Linked DNA regions of Homo sapiens: all the other regions are linked to region 3. The links are contacts of gene promoters, found by promoter capture Hi-C in blood cells and fetal thymus (Javierre and others, 2016). All regions are on one chromosome and are shown on one strand. The core of a region is centred on a gene start or on the middle of the fragment in contact, and the rest is flanking DNA. Distances in the headings are between cores, read along the strand shown. Region 1 holds the start of FUS (FUS RNA binding protein). Region 2 overlaps ZNF668 (zinc finger protein 668). Region 3 holds the start of ZNF267 (zinc finger protein 267). Region 4 holds the start of PRSS53 (serine protease 53). Region 5 holds the start of STX4 (syntaxin 4). Region 6 holds the start of PRSS8 (serine protease 8). Region 7 holds the start of BCKDK (branched chain keto acid dehydrogenase kinase).

Region 1 (3,244 bases), core at 58-2,557, 690 kb before region 3:
GTGGGCGGGCCCAGGGCATGGCCCTCATTGTTTCTCTAGAAAGACGTGTCCAACCCTCAAAGGACCTTCTGAAATCCCGCTGAAAGGTTAAGTTGGGAAGGAAAACCTGCATGCCTATGTATCAGGAATTAACGTCTTTTGTCTTGTTTTATTCAGTAGTTTCAAATTGCCTTCTCCAGGCAAGGCTGATGAAAGTGCAAGTTGCAAGTTAATTTGAATGTTTCTTTTTGCTTTTGCTCTCACAGGAAGTGAAAAGGCGACCAAACACTCTAGCATTCATGCCACCAAAAAGAGGAGTGTTTTGCAGTTACAAGACCTGGATTCGAATCACGACTCCTCTTAGCTGCCCTGTAATCAGGCACAATTACTTGGGTCTCTGAGTCTCACTTTCCTTATCTAGAAAACGGAGGTATCTTTACTTCCTTCGTAAGACTGATGACAAGGAAATTATCTGTGCATTTTGAAACCACTTAAGCCTTGTACACGTTTTATTTCTGGGATCGCCCTGGTAGGGCTTCAGAAAAATAAAAAGGAGGTCCCTGAGAAAAGGCTGGGTACCGTACATCTGAGGTCAACCCTCTCTGGTCCCAAGGATGGCCTGGGCTGTTCCGCCCCGTGGCTCCCCAGGGGCAAAGCCATGAGGATCCGGGTGAGAGCCCAGTGCTGGACGAGCCCGGGGCCCAGGGGTCCCGGCCGAAATCCCTGCTGTCTTTCAGGTCAAACGTCATAATCCCCGAACCCCAGAAAGGCCGAAAGGCAAGGCAACCCTGAAAGACGACGAAGTCAACCTCAGGGCGCAGGAGAGGGAGGGCCAGTGTGCTGCCGACGAGGGAGGCTGGAGCCGCGGGGACGAGGCGCCCCATACAGCGGCAAGAGGGTGGAGGGCAGGAGCTCGCCATCCTGGGTGAAAGCGGGGCCCAGCGAAGGGGCCCGGCCACAGGAATCTCGGTTCCACCCCGCTACTCCCGGCTGTGACTCCAGTTTCGTCCCCAGCCGCCGGGACCGCCCCCTCGCCCCGCCCCCAGCGGGCACTCAGGCCGTACCACTGTGCCTTCATGGGGGTGGAGATAGATCGTGGGCTAGTCCTGCCGAGGAGAGAGGGGTTCTTCCTCAAAAAATATGATTATGTATAGTATTCGCATGATTCTAGTTAACTTGTTTCCCTTCTGCCTGCTCGGACCCTCTACCTGCCCTACGAAGGGGGCGGAGTGCGTTCCTGCCTCCCCCTGCTCTTCCGCGTTTGGTGCGCGCCTGCGCGGTGCGTAGGCGGCGGAGCGTACTTAAGCTTCGACGCAGGAGGCGGGGCTGCTCAGTCCTCCAGGCGTCGGTACTCAGCGGTGTTGGAACTTCGTTGCTTGCTTGCCTGTGCGCGCGTGCGCGGACATGGCCTCAAACGGTAGGTAAGGGCGCGAGGCGACGGCGGCGGCGCACCCGGCCGAGGCCTCCCAGCTGGGCTTTTCGTTTTCAGTGGGACCGGGGCGGCGATCCCGTGTGGGATTTTTTGGCGCCCCTGTGGCGGGAAGCCGCGGAGAAGAGTAACTGGAGGAGGCTGGTGTCGCCATTTTGTTTCGCTCCTCTGGCCCTCGCGCGCGGGGCGGGAAGTCTTTTCTTTGCAGTCCGTTTGCTTGGGGTGGGCGTTGGGAGGGACGCTTCTTAGGGGTTTGAAGCGTCAGGTGAGGGTGGAAAACGCCCATTCTCCGTGGCCTCGCCTCCCCCAACTCCCGGCCCCGCGCTCGAGCCCGCTTTGTCGCAGTGCTGCATCCGGGCACTCGCGGCGCGCACGCGCTCTGCGGGCCCCTCCCCCTTCGCGGCGCGGGTACCCCTTCCCCGCCTCGTGTTGGTTCAGCTTTCTGTCGCGAGACCCTTCGCGGAAGACTCGGCGGCGCGCGTCCGGTGTGAGCCTTGTCCCTCAGTGGTCCTTCGCGAATGGGCGGGATCGCTCCGTTCCCGCCTGGGTTGCCACGCGGCTGGGGGCGGAGGCTCGGGATCGGGGCCGCCCTCTAGCTTAACGGTTTGGCGGCGGTGGTCAGGGTTCGACCAACGGACTTGGGGACGGCCCGAGAGTTTTTCCCGCCTAAATTTCTTTCTTTTTTTTTTTGGAGACACGGTCTTCCTCTGTCGCCCAGGCTGGAGTGCAGTGGTGCGATCTCAGATCACTGCAACGTCCACCTCCTGGGTTCAAGTGATTCTTCTGCCTCAGCCTCCTGAGTAGTTGGGATTATAGGCGCCCGCCACCACAGCCCGGCTAATTTTTGTGTTTCTTAGTAGGGGCGGGGTTTCACCATGTTGGTCAGGCTGGTCTCGAACTGCTGACCTCAGGTGATCCGCCCGCCTGGGCCTCCCGAAGTGTCGGGATTACAGACGTAAGCCAACCACGCCTGGTCTAAATTTCTTTTTTCTGAGATAGGGACGGAGAAGAACGGCCGCCCGAGGCCACACCCTCTCCTGGTCCTCTTTCCCTTTTCCTGCGGGGGAAGCGCCGCGTTTCCTGTGCTGGGAGGATGAGTTGATCTTGTTCGTGTATCTTAAGTGGGGCTTTTCAAAAGCGCTTTTGTTGCTTTTTGTTCGCTGGGGGAAGGCAGGGTAGGTGAGAAAACGGAACCATCTGGAGTCCCAGGGCTGGGGACTCGAGTACCTGTTGACTTTCGCCTCCTAAGGCGAGCAGTTGCATGATCTCTGTCATTTGGGGTCCAAGGGCTCTTTTGATTCTCTGGCTTTGCACTAAAAAGCCCACTTCATCTCCGGGATTGGTCAAAGAGTGAAGAATGGCCTTTTTTGAGACTTTCTTATTCTGTGGGTCTGGGCTGAGAGAGCAGAGGCCACAATCTGAACACTGTTCGAATTCAAACCTGTGCCACTTTGGTAGTTCTGCGACGTTGGGAGAGTTAGTCTCTTGACTCCTGGCGATAATGGCTTTCTCATAGAGTGGATGAAACGAATGCGCGATGTTTTAGAGCAATCACTGACATGAATTGGGCTTGCAGAAAATTGTGGATGTCCACCAAGACCTTGGTTTTTCCAATGGTTAAGGCTTCTGGGACTCTGTAGAAACTTGCATTTTCTTCACTTTTTCTTTATTGTAAGAACACTTGGCTGATAACGCCAGTTTGTTCCTCTTCTCAACCAGTGTCTCATGGAGGAATTTTATGCCCTTTGTTGCAACATGGTCCTATTTTTATTTTTTTTTTTGAGATGGAGTCTTGCTCTGTTGCCAGGCTGGAGTGCAATGGCTCACTGCAACCTC
Region 2 (3,257 bases), core at 375-2,874, 800 kb before region 3:
TCTCCTGCCTCAGCTTCCCGAGTAGCTGGAATTATAGGCGCCCGCCACTACATCTGGCTCATTTTTGTATTTTTAGTAGAGAGAGGATTTCACCATGTTGGCCAGGCTGGTCTTGAACTCCTGACCTCAAGTGATCCACCCACCTTGGCTTCCCAAAGTGCTTGGATTACAGGCATGAGCCACCGCACCCAGCCCTCTTTACTTTTTAAAAAATGTTTTTATTTTTATTTATATATTTATTTTTGAGACAGAGTTTCACTCTTGTTGCCAAGGCTGGAGTGCAATGGCACCATCTCTGCTCACTCCAACCTCCGCCTCCCCGGTTCACGAGATTTTCCTGCCTCAGCCTCCCGAGTAGCTGGAATTACAGGCATCCACCACCACGCCTGGTTAATTTTTTGTATTTTTAGTAGAGATGGAGTTTCACCATGTTGGCCAGGCTGGTCTCGAACTCCTGACCTCAGATGATCCACTGCCTCGGCTTCCCAGAGTGCTGGGATTACAGGCATGAGCCACCGTGCCTGGCTTATTTTTATTTATTTTATTATTTATTGTTATTATTATTTGAGACAGAGTCTCCCTCTGTTGCCCAGGCTGGAGTGCAATGGTGTGATGTCAGTTCACTGCGACCTCTGCCTCCTGGGTTCAAGCAATTCTTCTGCCTCAGCCTCCCAAGTATTTGGGATTACAGGTGCCTGCCACCACAGCCAGCTAATTTTTTGTATTTTTAGTAGAGATGGCCATGTTGGCTAGGCTGGTCTGGAACTCCTGACCTCAGGTGATCCACCCACCTTGGCCTCCCAAAGTGCTGGGATTACAGGCTTGAGCCACCATGCCCGGCCTATTTATTTCATTTTTATTTATTTATTTTCTTTGAGAGAAAGTCTTTGTTGCCCAGGCTGGAGTGCAGTGGCTGCATCTCAGCTCACTGCAGCCTCCACCTCCCGGATTCAAGTGATTCTCCAGCCTCAGCCTCCCGAGTAGCTGGGACTACAGGCGAAAGCCATCACACCTGGCAAACTTTTGTATTTTTAGTAGAGACAGGGTTTCACCACATTGGCCACGCTGGTCTCGAACTCCTGACCTCAAGTGATCCGACCGCCTCAGCCTCCCAAAGTGCTGGGATTACAGGCGTGAGCCACCGTGCCTGGCCTTTATTTTTATTTAGAGATTGGGTCTCACTCTGTCACCCTGGAGTGCAGTGGCTCAATCATAGCTCACTTCAGCCTCAAACTCCTGCACTCAAGCAATCCTCCTGAGTAGCTAGGACTATAGGCACCCACCACCACACCTCGCTAATTTATTAAAAATTCTTTGTATATAGAGATGGAGGTCTCACTACGCTGCCGACAGTGGTCTCAAGAACTCCTGGCTTCAGATGCTCCTCCACTATGGCTTCCTAAAGTGCTGTGATTACAGGCATGAGCCACAGTGACCAGCACCCCTCCTCTCTAATTTCCTTTATGGTGTCATCTGGACAATACTCCTTGCAAGCTTACCATGGGCAAGGTATCATTCTAAGCATTTTGTGCATAATACTCAACTACTCAAGCCAACTGCACAGCTGCCTAGCAGTTCATTATGAGTGAATGTTTGTGTTCCCTGTCCATTCATATATTGAAATTCTAACTCTCATTGTGACTGTATTTGGAGACAAGGCCTTTATGGAAGTAATTAAGGCTGAATGACGTCATAAGGGTATGGCCCTGGTCCAGTAGGATTAGCGTTCTTATGAGAAGTGACACCACAAAGAAACAAGCTTACTAGTCACGGTCCCAGCCAGTGTTCAAATCCCAAACACCTGCTCTCTGAGCCCTGACTATTGCTTTGCTAGCATTACACATCTTATGGTTTGGCTGTTAATTCTTCATCACCAGCACCAGAGTCCAGGCTGGCAAAGGGCTAGGAAACCGATCATCTGCCTCCTCTACACCCAGAACCCTGTGTGGTGACCCAAAACAAATGGAAAGAACCAACCTCAGATGAAATTTGAACCCAGGTCTGTAGCCTCTGCCTCCTCCACAGTAGGAGTTTGTGAGAATGTCCACCAATAACTGTTTATTAACTAAATTCCTCCACCTTTCCAACTCCACAAGGCTCAACTATTGCCCCAATATCCCACAGTGGGCTCCCTGTCGTGGCGATGAAGCCTTGCTTTGCCTCACTACTGGCTTAGGAAGGGGATGAAGTTCTGCTGTCTCACTAGGCAAGCAAAGATTCAATTTCCAAAAATCCTAGGCTAGGACCCTGGGGCAGGGATGAGGAGAAAAAGGAGGCACCTCAATCTTCCCATCTCTAAACAAGCAGTCACCACACAGGCCTCACGGCCAGGAGTGACGTAGTGAGCGGATGAACCCTGCAGAAGTGAGCGCTAATCATATCCTAGGCCTCCTACCGGGCCAGTTCACAACCTGATCCCAACCTACTTTTCCAGCCTCAGCTCCAGCGACAGAGTCCTCCTCCCGGCAGCGACCGAACCTCCAGCCACAATTCTCAATCCTCCACCTCTAGATGCAGTTTCCTGGGCTCGGGGAGCCCTTGCCTGCCTTCTCCAACGGGAAAGCCCCTTTACATCCTTCAAGAACCCCCTTCCCTAGTGCCCTCAGGAATACTTTATGGCAGTAGAGAGGTAAGGGCCCCACGCCGCTCTGGACCTCAGTTTCCTCATCAGTAAAATGGGGTCCCTTAAGTTTGTGGGAGTTTGAAGGGCGGTGGGGCCTACGAAGCGCGCCGAGGAGCCGAGAGTTGCAGAAACCCGGAGCTCCTCGCTCCTCGCAACCGTCTGTACGCGGCGCCCCCGCCAGCCAGGCAGCCCCTGGAGGGCAGGACCCCGGTTATAAGCCTCAGAAAACGTGGCTTCGGAGGACGTGGCAAGGAGGACTGAACGAAGGATGAGGAGATGAACAAATGAATGGACGGAAGGCCGAATGAGGGACAAAGGCTTGCAAGATGGCGTTCTCTAGGACCGCGGGAGTGGTGGCCGGGCCTCAGCAGGGGAGGGGGCCGCCGGCGCCTGGGATCTTGCAGCGCGGGCCACGCGACCGGGACAAAAACCCAAAACATGGCGGGCTCTAGGACCCCCGGGACCACACCGCGCCGGGCCAGCAGCCGCGCGGGCCGAGCCTGGGTGTCCGCAGCCCAGAACCGCGGAGACAGCCGGCGGGTTCTAGGACCTGCTGGGCCCGCAATGCGCCCGGGGCCGCTCACAGCCCGCCCCGCCCGCGCTGCTCGCGCTGGGCCAACCCGGCCCGCCCTCG
Region 3 (3,076 bases), core at 353-2,852:
CGTGGTGCTGTCACAAGCAGTGCTGCCTTTGGGAGCCCCTAACCTCCTGTCTTTTCTCCCTTCAGTGTGGGAAAGGGGTTTGGTCAGCCAGTGGTGTCAGCAGCCCTGTCCCACACCCGTTGTCTACACCTAATCTGGTGGCAGGGAGGCCACAGAGTGCAGCGACTAGAACTGGGTGAGAGGGTGAGAGGCAGCCATGCCCCAGGCCAAGACAAGTGCATGGAATCCTGACTGTCAGCAATCAGGGATGTTTCTGCTTTGGGGAGGGAAGCATTTGTTCCACACGTCTCACTGAATAAGGCACAGAGCCTGATCTGTCCCAAGTGGGAGTTTAACCAAGCTAGATGGCGGCCGAGGGCCCTGGCCCAGTTTGACACCCACCTCCTCTCCCACCTTCTACTCAGCCAGAAGACTAGGAGAATCTACTCAGCCGGAAGACTACGAGGTGCTGCAGCGCCACTAGCTCCAAGACTCCAGAAAAACAGGAATAGGGCATTCTGGCAGGTCAAAGCAGACAGAATACTTGAGCTCAGGAGTTGGCGAACTGACTATTAACCTGTAGCCCCAGTTACTTGGGAGGCTAAGGTGGGAGGATCGCTTGAGCTCAGGAGATGGAGACCAGCCTGGGCAACATGGTGAAACCTCATCTCTACAAAAAATACAAAAATCAGCCGGGCATGGTGGCATGTGCCTGTAGTCCCAGCTACTCAGGAGGCTGAGGTGGGAAGATTGCTTGAGCCCCGGAGGCTGCAGTGAGCCATGACTGCACCACTGCACCAGCCTGGGCAATAGAGTGAGACCCTGTCTCAAAACAAAAGCAAAAACCAGAGGTAGGGCTGAGGAGTCCGTGGCCACAGAGCCTGAGCCAGCACGGCCCAGAGGAACTGAGCTCCCAGCCCTGTCGCTGCCAAGGACCCTTCTTCCCTGAGCTTGAAGGGATTGAGAAGGAGAGACAGACGGACAGTCAGCGGCCCCGTTACCAGTGATGCAGACTCCAGGAGATGCGGGCAGAGTTGTAGATTAGAAGAATAGGCCAGCCCCTCTTCCACGTTCCACCACGGCCCGCAACATCCTCCTGGGACCCCAGCCTGCATGCCCCTATAAGATGCTTTTGCACTGGTTCAGTCTATGTATCATGCGAGGGCCTAATTGAAAACACGTGAATGAAGTGTACGGCCTTCTGTTCCCAGCTGAGGGGCCCCCTCCCACGGTGGCGTTAGCAGTGGGGTACAGTGCGGTAAGAGAGGTGCTAAGGGACGGGATGAGGGTCTTTCTTGCTTTAAAGGTGTCTAAATATACTTCTTCTTAAACTTAATTAGCTAATAAGATGTCTTATACAAGCAGAACCAGGTAAGGGAAAGAGCAAGTGTATTTCAAGTCGCAGCTCACCCCTTAATTAGCTGTAATACCCGCAGCAGGCGGCCCCACCTCAATGAGCCAGTCTCCCTTTCAAAAAAAAAAAAAAAAAAGGCACTAATAATGAGGGGGCGGGGCATGGAGCTTTATCCAATCAGGGGCGCTGGAGTGGAAACCGTCCAATCAGGAGTGAAGCCGGAGAGCAGGGGCGGCTTCCGGGATTTGGCGGGGGCCTTCGTCGGCTCCAGTTAGAGCTCGGGTCTCCTCGCCACAGCTCCGAGTCTTTCGTTCTGGGAGGCCCAGGCGGCTTCGCGTTCTGAGAATAAACAGAACCTCTGTTGCTCTGCGACTTGCAGGCACTGGGAGATTCGTAGCTAAGACGCCAGGGCATCCCGGAAGCTGGGAAATGGTGAGTGTGCGGGGTCGGGGGTCCCCAGAGGGAGGGAGGGCGGTGGTCGGAAGCGGCGGGAACCCGCTGTAGGGGCACCCGGGCCTCCCCGCAGTCAGCCTCGGGGTCTGGGCCCCGAGTCCCAACTGGTGCAGCTCGGCCCTCGGTCCCCTCCGCTGCAAGATGGCGGCCAGGCCGGCAGCCGGGACCCCGCGTGTCCTGTCCCATCCCGACCCCGCAGAGCGACCTCGTCCCTGGCCGGAGCCCTCTCTGGGCAGCTCCGCGTCGCAGCCCCGCGTCTCCCCCAGATTGTGCGGTGAGGACGGGAGCGTCTCAGGGGAGACCCAGGTTCGGTGTGTGGGAAGAAACCGTGCCCTGTGGGGTCCTCAGTCACTACTCCTCTTAAGAATTAAAGGGAGTCACTGTTAAAACGTTGAAGAATTTGAGCAAATAGCGATTTGTGACATGGGAAGCCTGCAGTCCTGGTTTGTGGTTCGGAGATCCCCAGAGGGGCTTGAAGGAAAGGTTTTTATAAGGTGCATGAGGAAGCAGACCAAATTAACCGATGGGTTACAGTTTGTAGTTGCCTTATTTAGACTATGCAGGTGGAGGTGAATTGGAGCTTTGTGGTTCGTTAAGTCTGAATTTTGTTTTCCCCTAAAGTTGTAATTTACAAGAAAAGCATTTGAGTTTGGTTTTGGTTTTTCTCCCTAGAAACCTGGGGCACTATAACCACTTCCGTATAATCGCCTGCTCATTAATCATCTTAACACTGCCCAGGGGAACTGGTTTTCCCCCTGCGCTTTCCTAACGTGTAGCACGCAGAGTCTCAAGTCCACCACTGTGTTCCCCCAGTCTAACTGGGCTTGCAATAAAATATTAAATTTCCAGTTCCTTCCCGACATTTCCAAAGGCCAACTTCCCCTCTCCAGTTCACATTCTTAACTATTGGTCATTTATTGTACATTTCAGACAGTATTTTACTCATTAATCATGATTTCACAGAGCAGTGGATGACACTTTTTTAAAGATTTGTGTTTTTTTGGCATACATTTCACGTGAGAGGAAAGCAGAGAATAAAAAATCCCTGACACTCCACTGCAAAAAAAACTGTGCCTCTTTTTCATTCATCTTCCCCAGGCACAGACACGTTATCGGAAAGAATGTCTTTTGACTTGAGGTTTTGCTTTGGAAACTTTACAGGGCCCTGTATAGCCACCCTCTATCCAGTCTTTTCCTGTTCCTGAATTTCAGAACTGTCTGGGATGACTCAAGATGCCCACAGTGGCCATGTCTCCTGGAGTGTTTAGTGACTGTCAGCCCCAGGTCACC
Region 4 (3,167 bases), core at 539-3,038, 780 kb before region 3:
GCCTGGCTAATTTTACAGTTTTTGTAGAGACATGGTCTTGCTATGTTGCACAGGCTAGTCTTGAACTCTTGGGCTCAAGCGATCCTCCCTCCGTGGCCTCCCAAAGGGCTGGGATTACAAGCGTGAGCTACTGTGCCCGGCCTCAGTCTGTGACTTTAAGCGAGGTCATTCCCTTGCAACCTGAGTTTTCTGATTTGTAAATCTTCTACCATGAAAGGTGGTTGTTACAATTAACTTGACAATATGTACCCAGTACATGGCAGATTCTCAGTAAATGGTTCTTTATTATTACTCTAGAGGCAGGGACTAGCCTTGTGGGGCTTGAGACAAATTGTCCACTCCCCAGAGCCGGAGACCCTGCCTGACCCCAGCCATGACTTACTTTTCAAAGCAGTGGGCAGCAGTGAGGACCCAGGTGTCTGCCACCAGGGAGCCGCTGCAGATGTGGGCTCCTTGCCTCCTCACACTGGCCTGCCAGGGCCACTCGCCAGGGACTGTGTTGCCCTCCTGAGGCTTGGGGGGGCCGGGGCCACGCTGTCCACAGGCTGTGGAAAGGAGTTAGTCACACTGACAGCAGATACCTGTCCTGACCTCACCCCAGTCCCAACCCAGACCCAAGTAAGACCTAGGCCCCGTGTCCCCAGACCTTACCACGCTGAGCGGCTTGAAGACCTGGGAAGAGAGAGACACAGGTAAGATGCAGGGACTCCAGGCCTGCCTAGCTTTGGGGAGGAGAGGGGATGGGCTGGGGGGCGGGCCCAGGGTCCTTGCCTGTGACTCTGATTACCTTACCAGCCCCTCCCAGAATGAAAATATTTATATGAGGCCGAGACAGCTTTTATTGGAACCTATTCAGTGTGCACACTCAGTAATTAATTCTCCTTCAGCTGTGCTCAGCACTCTGGGGCTTGGGGTTCAGCTTGGGAGTAGGCCAGCCCTCCTCCAGGCTTCAGAACCCCCAACTCCTGCCCCCGCCACTGAGTCAGCCAGGCGGCCTGTGTGTGTAGAGAGCATTAGCTTAATTGTCCTCTTAGCAGCAGAGGCCTAAGAGGAAGGATTAGAGGCCTGCATCATTTCCAAGTGGGGAGGGCCCCAAGAAATGGAGACTTACCTCACCCTGGTCTAGAGACTCAGTCTTCCCCACCTTCCCAGAAACTGTCTGAGAGCCCGCCAGAGAGAGGGCCCCTGCCCACCGCCCCTCACAGGCACACAGGCACCCCATGAGACAGCTGAGCCAGGCTGCCCAGAGGATGGATGAAAAGAAAGGGAAACTGAGGCCAGAGGAGCCCAGAGTTTGCCTGACGTCATTGTGGAAGTCGAGGGGGAGGCAGGCACAGGACACACGCAGGCAGCACCTCACACACACACAAGACCACAGGCCCCGCCAACGCAAACTGCAGCTGGCCCGAGAAAATCTCATCCATGTTGACACAGGTGGCCACATATACCACCCCACAGAGTCCTACGGAGTTACATCCCCACTGGTGGACTGTCGCCCACAGGCGGTCCCCCCACCAAGAAGCAGGGACTGCTGGGGCAGAGATGGCCCCTGAGCCCCCACCAGGCCACACCCATACCCCAGCACATGGCGGCTTACCCTCCATGAGGACTGTGGCACCCGCGATGAGCAGCACTGGGCCCCAGCACCACTTCATGCTGCCCCGGGCCACTCTGCCACCTGTGCTCCACTCTGAGAGAGGCCACCTGGGTCTCCCTGGCTCCACCTCTGCTCCACCTCCAGTTGGCTAGGATTCAGCTGTCTGCTTGCCCTAGCCAGCAGTTCCTAGCTCTGGGGCTGTGGCTGTGTGACCCTAGGCTTGTCACCACCCCTCTCTGGGCCTTAGCCGTGGAGCCAAATTGTCTGGGTTTAAATCTGTTTCCTTACTACTTGAGTGGCCTGGGAGAGCTAACCTGCCTGTGCCTTGTCTGAGAAACAGTTGTTGAATGGAAAACGTCTCAATGACAGCCTGGCACAGGGCAAGCTCACTCCCAGCATGAAAGTGCCATCCTGGAACCATGGAGGGCACGTGGGCAGCTCCTCCCAGTCCCCACTTTTCATTTCCACTCCCCCACTTCTCTTCCAGCCAGGGCTAGGTGGGTTTCACATGCCTTCTCCCAGGTCTGCTCAGAGACAGTGTGTGCCAGGCTGAGTGGTGAGGAGCCAGCACCCACTGCTGCTTGCTCGCTGTGAGCCTTTGGCAAATCCCAGTATCTCCCTGGGCCTGCTGGCTTCCTGGGAAACAGGGTGACAGCGGTGCCCACCTTCCTCATAGGCGCAGAGGACTCGGTCAGGCGGGAAGAACACTTTGGCGCGTGCCTCCTCTTCCTCTTCCCACTCCTAACTCAGGCTGGCCCAGACCATTCAAGAACCCTGACCCCAAGACAGAGGCAGCTGTGGGTAAGGTTTAGCATATATTATAGATGCTGGCCGGGCATGGTGGCTCACGCCTGTAATCCCAGCACTTTGGGAGGCCAAAGCAGGCAGATCACCTGAGGTCGGGAGTGCGAGACCAGCCTGACCAACATAGAGAAACACTGTCTCTACTAAAAATACAAAATTAGCCAGGCCTGGTGGCGCATGCCTGTAATCCCAGCTACTCGGGAGGCTGAGGCAGGAGAATCACTTGAACCTGGGAGGTGGAGGTTGTGGTGAGCCGAAATTGTGCCATTGCACTCCAGCCTGGACAACAAGAGCGAAAGTCCGTCTCAAAAACAAACCAACAAAAAAAAAAGCATATAGATGCTGGAGCCAGATGGACCAGGTGGATTCAAATCCTGAGAGCCTCCTGCAGTAGCTGTGTGATCTCAGGCATACTAATTAGCCACTCTGTCCCTATCATCAAGATAGGGATAATAATAGTACCCACCTCATAAATCACTGTAAAGATTAAACGAGTTTAACACGTTAACACAAGTTTTTTTTTGTTTTTTGTTTTTTTTTGGAGACGGTCTTGCTCTGTTGCTCAGGCTGGAGTGCAGTGATCATGGCTCACTGCAGCCTCAACCTTCTGGGCTCAAGCAGTCTTCCCGCCAGCTTCCCGATTAGTTGGGACTATAGGTACATACACCACCATGCCTGGCTAATTTTTTTTTTTTTTTTTTTTTGTAGAGACAGGGGTCTCACTATTTTGCCCAGGCTGGTCTGGAACTCCTGGCCTCAAGTGATC
Region 5 (2,879 bases), core at 68-2,567, 840 kb before region 3:
TGCAGGAATTTTTGTCTATTAGTCCTTGATGTATCTCCAGCCCTAGAACAGTGTTTGGCCCATACTATGTGCCCAAAAAATATCCATTAAATGACTGAATGTTGCTGTGCATGGTGGTGCATGCCTGTAATCCCAGCACTTTGGGAAGCTGAGGCAGAAGGATTGCTTAAGCCCAGGAGTTAGAGACCAGCTTGGACAACATAGTGAGACCGCATCTCGTAAAAATTTTTAAAAATAAAAAATGAGTGAATATCTAGATAGCCAGGATTAGAGAAGTGTCACAGTCAGAAAGCCTGAAGCCTAAAGAAGACCAAGGAACCAGGGGCTTTATCCTCAGATACATGAAAGCCTGAAATTCTGTCCACAAGTATTTATAGAGGGCCCGTAATGTTCTTGGTACTGGGCTAGGAACTCCCCAGATTCAGTTAAGAACAAAGTCATTACCTGGCCTCAGATGCAAGGCAGGGGCTGGGGGGTGTGAGTGGCAGGGAGGCAGCGTGATCAATACAAACACTTTTCTTAGCCTGAGCTGCCCTGACATGGTCTGACGGCTCACAAGGTGGTGAGTGCAGCCGGGCTGCAGTGTTCAAGGAGGGCGCCGGCTGGCCGCCCACCTGTCAGAGGCTGCGCCAGAAGGATGCGGAAGAAGAGATTTCTGCCTTGGCTGAGGTCACTTCCCACCCCCAGATTCCCTGCCCACACAACCCTGCAATTTTCTGACGCTGACGACTCGGATCCTATTATTTCCCGATTTTCAAGGTCCCATGATGCTGACAGCCCCAAATGCTAAGTCGTCAGTCCGCCCACGCCCTGGACCCGAAAGCAATAAAGGCGAGGTCAGCAAGGGTCCTACCACCCACTGCCTCGAAAGGCCTCTGGGGGTGGTCGGCGCGCCCCTCCCCACCTCGCGGGGGCCGTGTGGGCGTCGCTCGGTCGTTGGGGTGCCGGGGACGTCGTGATGAGAACGGCGTCCCAGAGACGGCGGTGACAGAGCCGGGACACGTGACAGTCACAGGGTCACATTCTGCGGTCCACGAGTTTGGGACCGGGCTGGTCACGTGACGCGGTGGGGGCACCATGGGGTGATGTGAGATGCGGGTGTCTCGGATTACGTACAAATGACGTATTCCTACCCCTTTTGGCAACCAGATTTCCGTTGGAAGATGCAACGGTTCCGGTGACGGTAGCAAGTTCTCGCGTCCAGGCATCTCCGCTTCCGCTCGGGGCGCAACAACTTCCGACTCCACCTTCCCAGCCTCGGGCAAGGAAGAGACGCGACCATGTGCGCATGCCCCGAATTTATCACGGAGGGGCGGGGCTGAGGCTGCGGGAGCTGGAGCGGGGAAGAAAAGGGAATTCCAACCTGTGGAACCTTGGGGGGTCCCCGGGGTCGGCGCCTTCCCATTGACTGTGGGCGGTGCAAGGGACGGAGCCTCTGGCGGCTCGTGGGGGTGTTGGGGTCCGCAGGGGGAGGGAGGGGAGTGTCAGAGTGTGAGCGGGGTACGGGAATTCCAAATTTGAGGGCCTCCCGGCTCTGGCGCCGGGGAGGGAGAGCTCAGGCCGCCATGCGGGACAGGACCCACGAGCTGAGACAGGTGAGACGCCAGGGCAGCGGGGATGGGGACGGGCGGACGAACTGGAACGCAGGACTTCTGGTCTTCGGGATAGGGAGGGGTGGCTGATGGCCAGGAAGGAAAGTCCCGGAAGCCTGTGGGTCCTGCGGGGTAAGAGCCGCAGCGAAACGGTGGTGCCAATGACTCCGGGCCTGGCAGGGGGATGACAGCTCGGACGAAGAGGACAAGGAGCGGGTCGCGCTGGTGGTGCACCCGGGCACGGCACGGCTGGGGAGCCCGGACGAGGAGTTCTTCCACAAGGTAAGGGGCTGGGGTCTCCGCCTGGATTCGCGAGGGTGTAGGAGGACCCGAGGAGTAGCGTGGTCTGGAGTACCCCATATCTCTTTCAGCCCTCTCGGTCACCCTCCCCAGGTCCGGACAATTCGGCAGACTATTGTCAAACTGGGGAATAAAGTCCAGGAGTTGGAGAAACAGCAGGTCACCATCCTGGCCACGCCCCTTCCCGAGGAGAGTGAGTGAAACCCCGGCTGCAGGGCGCATGCTCCGCCCCAGGGATTGTGGGGGTTGTAGTTCCACGCAGGTGGTGGCCAGAGTGGTTTGTTGAGGTGGGGGCTGCTGTTTGGGAGTCTTGGCCTTCTCTTATTCAGGCATGAAGCAGGAGCTGCAGAACCTGCGCGATGAGATCAAACAGCTGGGGAGGGAGATCCGCCTGCAGCTGAAGGGTGAGCTCCTGGGACCTCAGACAGATCCTTCCCTCTGATCCTGCCCTGTTGTTGGTATATCTGGGGAGTGTGTGGCCCAGAGAAGCCAGTGATATATCCAGGTCACACAGCAGGCCTGGGTCTAGCATCTGTCTCCTGGCCTCCAGGCCATTGTACTCTCCACAGCACAAGTCCGCCTCTCAGGTTCTTTTATTTACAATGAAACCATTTACTTACACAGTTATCGCTGCCCACTGGGCATTCTTTGGGCAGGGAGATGGAGTTTTGTTAGGTGGCCTCTGCATACCTATGGGAACTCAGTGATGTAATGCAAAGAAAAATAAACTTACTTTCTCCTCTTAGAGGCTCAGCCTTAGTCATTTTATGATAAATTATATTTCCCTAAAAATCCTATGGAGACAAGTACCCCCAATACCCCTGTGTCTTCCCACAGCCATAGAGCCCCAGAAGGAGGAAGCTGATGAGAACTATAACTCCGTCAACACAAGAATGAGAAAAACCCAGGTGGGTTTTTTTTCTCAGAAATGAGGACATTTCAGCAAATGTTTCATGAAGTATTAGATGACAGGTGTATGAAGGAAGG
Region 6 (2,936 bases), core at 252-2,751, 740 kb before region 3:
AGGAGCAGAGAAAATTGCAGACCAGATCTTTCTCTCCCTTATCATCATGACAATAGCCACTATTTAGAGAGCCTAGCGGCTGTGCCAGGCCCTGGAGGGGCTTTCGCTTCCTCATCTCCCTGCATCCTCTCCACAGCCCCAGGAGACGGACATGACCAGCTTCATTTTAGAGGTGAGGAGTCTAAGGCTTAGAGAAGTGGGGGGACTTGGCCAATGACACACAGCCAGTGCATGGGGAAGCCAGGATTGAAAGCCGGTCTGACTCAGAGCTGGGTTGGGTGCCTTCCAAGAAAGGAGACCCTTGGTTTGGTTCCCTCAAAACCACCTCCAGGATGGGAACGGTGGCTCACACCTGTAATCCCAGCACTTTGAGAGGCCAAGGCAGGAGGATCGCTTGAGCCCAGGAGTTCAAGACCTGCCCGGCCAACATAGTGAGACCCACATCTCTACCAAACAAAAACAAAAACAAAAACAAAACACAACTAGCTGGGTGTGATGGCATGCACCTGTAGTCCCAGCCACTAGGGAGGCTGAGGTGGGGAGGTGGGAGGATCACGTGAGCCCGGGAGGCTGGATCACTGAGACTGCAGTGAGCTGCGATCGGGCCACTGCACTCCAGCCTGGGTGACGACAGACCCAGACCCTGTTTCAAAAGACAAAAACCAAACCAAAAAAACCACCTCGATTGCCCCACTTTGGGAGTCAGACGTGGATCTGAATCCCAGCTGCACCTTCACTGGCAGTGTGCCCTGGGCAAGTCCCTGCTTCTCTGCCCATAAGGTGAGGGCTAAAACCCCCCACTCTGGGAGCCCTAAGAGAATCTAGTTGGAAGGCAGCCCAGCTGAAGGCCAGGCACTGGTTAAACCCCAGGGGAATCCGATCCAAGTCACCTCCCCCTCCCCTCCTCCCTCTCCGAGGAAAGTCTCACCTTCTGCCCCTTCCGCTCCTAGAAAGAAAGAGAAAGAGGAGGGGTGAGTAGGGAAGACTCGGGTTCCCTGACCCCTTAGTACCCACCACTGCTCCAGAGGGCTGGCCCCTTCCCTGACAGAGCCAAGGTGGGAAAGAGAGGCCAAGAGCTAGGGAGGCCGGGGGTTTTCTTGGGCCCCAGACAAGGGCACACCCCAGAAAATGATCACGCCGGCTCCCTCCAGTGCATTGTCCCCACCCTGCCCCCACGTCCTCACTTACCTGTCCCCGACCGGAGTAATCCAAGATAGAGCAGAATGGCCACAGCCCCCAGCTGCCCAGGCCCCAGGACCCCCTTCTGGGCCATGGCCCAGGACAAGGGCCCCTGGGGCAGACTCCAGGCACGCAAGGTAGGAAGCCTTGGGGTGGTGTCGAAGGCAGGACCCAGATGTTGGCTCAGAGGGAAGGATCCCAGAATCCGGGCTGGAAAGGGGCAGCAAGTGTCCAAGGCTGGCCTCTAAGGCAGGGAGCGGCCGCAACGGGAGACGCCTGGAGTATCCGAAGCGAGCAGTGTGGACGAGTCACCAGCACCGTCTGGCCACGCAGGGTCCTCCCAGGAGTGGCTGCACCTACCTGCCCGCCCCTCCCCTGGCCCCGCCCACTGGCTGGGCTCCGCCAGCTCCTCTTGCCACCAAAGTCATGAGTCCTTTCAGAGCTGCAGGCCCGTGTGTGTGCATGTATGTGTCCGTGTGTATGTGTGTGCACATGCATAGGCCTTTTGTGTGTGTGTCCCGGTGTGTAGTGTGTATGTGGTGTGTGTGTATGCCTGTGTAGGCTGTGTGTGTCCTCTTATGTGGTGTGGTATGTGTGTGTGTGTGCATGTACAGGCTGTATGTGCACATGTGTAGGCTGTGTGTGTCCCTGTGTGTGTAGTGTGTGTGTCTGAGTGTGCGTGCATGCACGTGCATGTGGTTTGTGTGTGTGTGCAGTCTCCCTGGAATGTGACGACTCTCCTCCGCCTCAGGTCTTTCAGGTTATCTCAGGCCAGTTATGCCCCCCAGGGCCTGGCCCCAGCTTTTATTATCTGGAGCCACAGCCACTCCTCCCTTCTTCCCTCCCTCCTTAGGCTGGTTATGGGAGCTTAAGACACTATGGTCTGTCCCCTGCCAGGCCCTTTCTGCGATGCCTGCACCTCATGGGTGGTGGCGAGCTTGTGGAGCAGCACCAATCATCCCACAGACATTTCCTAAGTGCCTATGATGTTCCCAGGTGTCCAGGACAAAACAGGCACCAGCCCCGTCCCCCTTGAGCCCTGAGCTCATGGTGAAGTAGGGGTGACACACTTCAATCAAATAATCACAAACAGGCTGGCAAGGTGGCTAGTCGGCTTTGGGAGGCTGAGGCTGGAGCATCACTTGAAGCCAGGAGTTCCAGACCAGCCTGGGGAATATAGCGAGGCCTCATCTCTACAAAGAAATATAAAAATTAGGCAGGCATTGTGGCGCATGCCTATGGTTCCAGCTATTTGGGAGGCTGAGGCAGGAGGATTGCTTGAGCCCAGGAGTTCAACGAAGCATTGAGCTATGATCACGCCACTGCACTCCAGCCTGGGCAACAGAGGGAGACCCTGTCTTAAAAAAAAAAATTGCAATTACACAATAATTTCAAGCTAGGAATAGTGATGAAAAAGAATGGCGTGAGCACACCACAGCCTGGCAAAGGCTGGCATTGTGAAAGGGTCCTCGAGGAATTGCCTTGGAAACTGAGACCGAAAGGGATTATAAAAGGTGGTAAGGCGAAGATGGGGGGATGGGGTGCAGAGGGCAGAGGCTCAGGGAAAGAAGGCTTGCCGTGTGGCTGCGGTGGGAGTGAGGCATGTATCCTCCTTGAGGGCCACTCTGGCCGTTCAAAACACCTGTTGAGGCTGGGTGTGGTGGCTCACGCCTCTAATCTCGGCACTTTGGGAGGCCAAGGCACACGAATCACGAGGTCAGGAGTTTGAGACCATCCTGAACAACATGGTGAAACCC
Region 7 (3,036 bases), core at 460-2,959, 770 kb before region 3:
AGACCAGCCTGGGCAACATAGCGAGACCCCGGCTCTAAGAAAAATAGGCCAGGCACGGTGGGTTACGTCTGTAATCCCAGCACTTTGGGAGGCTGTGGCAAAAGGATTGCCTGAGGGGGAAAAAATCACCCTGGGGGTAGTGGTGCACACTTACAGTCTCGGCTACTTGAGAGGCTGAGGTGGGAGGATCATTTAAGTCGGAGGCTGCAGTGAGCTACTATGGAGCGACTGTATTACAGCTTGAGCAACAGAGCGAGACCCCATCTCCAAATAAATAAATAAAGATAGCCTCCAAAGATGTCACTTGCTTCACTTAGCACTTTTTATTGAACATATTTAGGAAATATATAACCATGGTAAAGAAAATTGCAATTAGTACAAATACACACTACACACATATGCACGTGCACACACTGAAACGTGTCCCTTCCAGCGCCTCCTGCCTGGATAATTTTTTTTTTTTTTGCAACGGAGTTTTGCTCTTGTTGCCCAGGATGGAGAGCAGTGGCGGGATATCGGCTCACTGCAACCTCCTCCTCCCGGGTTCGAGCGATTCTCCTGCCTCAGCCTCGCGAGTAGCTGGGATTACAGGCGCCAGCCACAACACCCGGCTGATTTTTGTATTTTTAGTAGAGACGGGGTTTTGCCAAGTTGGCCAGGCTGGTCTGGAACTCCTGAGATCCGCCCACCTCGTCCTCTCAAAGTGCTGGGATTACAGGCCTGAGCCACTGCGCCTGGCCTAAAGTAATTGTCTTCTTATTGGTTTCTCTGCCTTTGGTCTCACCAAACGCCCCACTCTAAATCACTGCAGACAAGGGGTTCTGTCTAAGGAGGAGAGCCCACCAGTTAAAACCCTTCAGTAGTTCCTAACTACCCTAGGACAAATGCAGACTTATCCTTCGCTCTCTGCTGCCGCCCCTCTCCTTCCCAGATCCCATATGGCTCCAGCCATATCCTCAGACCATCTGGGCTGTTGTCTGTCCTGCCACACACCCTTCCCACCCCGCTCCCTTGCAAGTCCTACTCAGGCTGCACCTACACAGCTGTCTCAGTTTCTATCTGAGGCTCCCGCAGCCTCCTCTGAAAGTCCTCATCACAGCCAATGATACTGAAACTGTTTTCTTATGCAGGGCACGGAAAGATCTATTCAACTCACTGCCCAATCTCCTCTCCTGGTGCAGAAAAGACACCCAGTCAGCGACTTGCATTATCTGCAGGCATGAGTGAATAATAATAATGCCTAACCCTTATATAGTGCTAATTCCACGCCTGGCACTGTTCTAGGCACTCATATAAATTCATGTAATCCACACAACCCCAAAACTGATGATATCTCTTCATCTTACCAAGCACTGAGCAGTTAAATAACTTGCTCCAGATATTAAGGGGTCGAGCTGGGGTTTGAAGCCTGGTTACCCATAAATGAACCAAGAACTGGAAGGAGGACAAGAGCTCCGAGAAGGAGTCAGGTAGGGCGTGATCTGTGCGCTTTACATCTAAGATCTTCCAGCTCCCAGGGAGCCCGTTTCATAGAGCAGGAGATAGAGGCTGGGAGGGACACGGAGAGCCTCGAGAGCCGTGTGGAGGAAGCGGTGCTGTTTGGGGTCCGGGAGCAAGGGCGTGGCCTGGATGCGCGGGCGCCCGGGACGGCACGTCCTCAGACCAAACTACAACTCCCAGGACCCAGCGGGCGCTGCCGCCCACGCGACGTCACGGCGGCGGAGGGCGCAGGCGGCTGGGCGCCTGGCGAGTGGACTGTTCGAGCCCTTCCGCTGGGACCCGGGCCCTGGCTCCGGCCCCGCGGTAAGTGGGGCGACCCCAGCCTACTCAGTCCGCGGAGGCCCCGCGGCGCACGTCCGCAGCCTCCATCACAGCGCGGGCGCGCAGACGGGGCTGGCATCTACCATATGGGGGGCATCCGGGCCGAACCAAGTGACCCGCGTGGGGGGTCCCGCTGGGGACTCCGTGCCGCACCCTCCCAAGCCGGCCCCAGGGGCCCAGGGCTGGTGTCGCACGTTCGCTGGCCGCGCTCCCAGGGCCCGGGTTTGAAGGCGCTGGGCAGGCAGGGGCAGCCCCGCCCCCTGAGAAGGGTACCCGGGACCCCGGGGCGCTGGGGCGAGGTTTTCGGGCTGGAAGGGTCTGAGGGGCTCCTCCCCCGACAGCCCTCCCACCGCCAGTAGAGCCTCGGGTTGGGGAATAGAAGCCCCCGGGAGGCTAGGTCCTTTGGGCGCGGCCTGTGTGCATCTGGGGAGACGGTGGGAGTGGTGGGGAGAGGTCGCCCGGGTCTGGGGAGACCGATGCACAGGTGGAGAGATGGTGCGGGTTCTGTGGATTCGGATCCTTACAACTTCCTCTTCCCCGCCCCGGTAGATGGGAGCTGCTCTCCGCGGGCTGAGCCTGTCAGCATCCTCGACGCACCCTGGTCCCTGAAGTCGGAGAAGAGCCCCTACCCACCCACACCCCCTTGCCCCATTTTGGGTCGCCTGGGTCCTCAGTCCTAGCGGATCCTCAGTCCTAGCGGCCACCGGGTCTGAAAGGAGCAAGACGATGATCCTGGCGTCGGTGCTGAGGAGCGGTCCCGGGGGCGGGCTTCCGCTCCGGCCCCTCCTGGGACCCGCACTCGCGCTCCGGGCCCGCTCGACGTCGGCCACCGACACACACCACGTGGAGATGGCTCGGGAGCGCTCCAAGACCGTCACCTCCTTTTACAACCAGTCGGCCATCGACGCGGCAGCGGAGAAGGTGCGCAAGGGGGCAGCCAGCCCAGGGTCCGGGATGTAGGCGGGAGGGAGAGTGTTGGGGGTTCTCTGCTCAAGGCCTCTCTCCCTCTCTAGCCCTCAGTCCGCCTAACGCCCACCATGATGCTCTACGCTGGCCGCTCTCAGGACGGCAGCCACCTTCTGGTAAGATTCACGCCCTCTATTTTCCTCGTGGATCCTGGAGCTCTCCCAGACACTCAGGCTCCAGCCCCGCCTTCCCTTCTCATTTTCTCCCAGAAAAGTGCTCGGTACCTGCAGCAAGAACTTCCAGTGAGGA

The links. The method cuts DNA at HindIII sites, captures the fragments that hold promoters and counts their contacts. A CHiCAGO score of 5 or more calls a contact.
Region 1: the fragment with the promoter of FUS here is called in contact with the fragment with the promoter of ZNF267 in region 3 in 17 of 17 cell types (non-activated CD4 T cells, total CD4 T cells, activated CD4 T cells and 14 more); the score reaches 39.2 in non-activated CD4 T cells.
Region 2: a fragment that was not itself captured here is called in contact with the fragment with the promoter of ZNF267 in region 3 in 1 of 17 cell types (fetal thymus); the score reaches 5.2 in fetal thymus.
Region 4: the fragment with the promoter of PRSS53 here is called in contact with the fragment with the promoter of ZNF267 in region 3 in 7 of 17 cell types (non-activated CD4 T cells, activated CD4 T cells, fetal thymus and 4 more); the score reaches 12.3 in non-activated CD4 T cells.
Region 5: the fragment with the promoter of STX4 here is called in contact with the fragment with the promoter of ZNF267 in region 3 in 16 of 17 cell types (naive CD8 T cells, activated CD4 T cells, non-activated CD4 T cells and 13 more); the score reaches 25.2 in naive CD8 T cells.
Region 6: the fragment with the promoter of PRSS8 here is called in contact with the fragment with the promoter of ZNF267 in region 3 in 16 of 17 cell types (naive CD8 T cells, non-activated CD4 T cells, total CD4 T cells and 13 more); the score reaches 32.5 in naive CD8 T cells.
Region 7: a contact is called between the fragment with the promoter of BCKDK here and the fragment with the promoter of ZNF267 in region 3, in 3 of 17 cell types (non-activated CD4 T cells, fetal thymus and monocytes). The highest score is 8.2, in non-activated CD4 T cells.

What each region holds. Positions count from the first base shown.
Region 1 is chr16:31,178,832-31,182,075 of GRCh38, forward strand. It overlaps FUS (FUS RNA binding protein), which reads left to right and starts at 1,308. Exons shown (of 15, transcript NM_004960.4): 1 at 1,308-1,396. The coding sequence starts at 1,384. RefSeq lists enhancers at 194-253, 545-1,305, 764-833, 1,306-2,067, 2,068-2,828 and 4 more and silencers at 994-1,063, 1,704-1,853, 1,974-2,023. The HindIII fragment of the contact is 6,651 bases long and covers 1,284-3,244 here.
Region 2 is chr16:31,070,314-31,073,570 of GRCh38, forward strand. All of the region lies in intron 1 of ZNF668 (zinc finger protein 668), which reads right to left. It also overlaps a transcript of ZNF646 not described here. Among named protein-coding and RNA genes, the nearest start is that of ZNF668, 2.3 kb to the right of the region's middle. RefSeq lists enhancers at 2,803-3,257, 2,895-3,189 and a silencer at 3,078-3,257. The HindIII fragment of the contact is 265 bases long and covers 1,493-1,757 here.
Region 3 is chr16:31,872,205-31,875,280 of GRCh38, forward strand. ZNF267 (zinc finger protein 267) reads left to right here and starts at 1,603. Exons shown (of 4, transcript NM_003414.6): 1 at 1,603-1,765. The coding sequence starts at 1,763. RefSeq lists an enhancer at 1,424-1,718 and silencers at 1,605-1,654, 1,805-1,884. The HindIII fragment of the contact is 12,710 bases long and covers 1-3,076 here.
Region 4 is chr16:31,087,155-31,090,321 of GRCh38, forward strand. PRSS53 (serine protease 53) reads right to left here and starts at 1,789. Exons shown (of 11, transcript NM_001039503.3): 1 at 1,598-1,789; 2 at 652-672; 3 at 383-545. The coding sequence starts at 1,655. RefSeq lists an enhancer at 1,466-1,966. The HindIII fragment of the contact is 23,145 bases long and covers 1-3,167 here.
Region 5 is chr16:31,032,241-31,035,119 of GRCh38, forward strand. STX4 (syntaxin 4) reads left to right here and starts at 1,318. Exons shown (of 11, transcript NM_004604.5): 1 at 1,318-1,595; 2 at 1,773-1,874; 3 at 1,986-2,085; 4 at 2,222-2,296; 5 at 2,730-2,800. The coding sequence starts at 1,566. RefSeq lists enhancers at 642-1,153, 1,666-2,176. The HindIII fragment of the contact is 4,602 bases long and covers 1-2,879 here.
Region 6 is chr16:31,134,226-31,137,161 of GRCh38, forward strand. It overlaps PRSS8 (serine protease 8), which reads right to left and starts at 1,502. Exons shown (of 6, transcript NM_002773.5): 1 at 1,189-1,502; 2 at 929-946. The coding sequence starts at 1,273. RefSeq lists an enhancer at 1-563. The HindIII fragment of the contact is 17,481 bases long and covers 1-2,936 here.
Region 7 is chr16:31,106,677-31,109,712 of GRCh38, forward strand. It overlaps BCKDK (branched chain keto acid dehydrogenase kinase), which reads left to right and starts at 1,710. Exons shown (of 12, transcript NM_005881.4): 1 at 1,710-1,803; 2 at 2,371-2,742; 3 at 2,835-2,903; 4 at 2,997-3,036. The coding sequence starts at 2,548. RefSeq lists enhancers at 1,434-2,327, 2,328-3,036 and a silencer at 1,563-2,102. The HindIII fragment of the contact is 13,040 bases long and covers 1-3,036 here.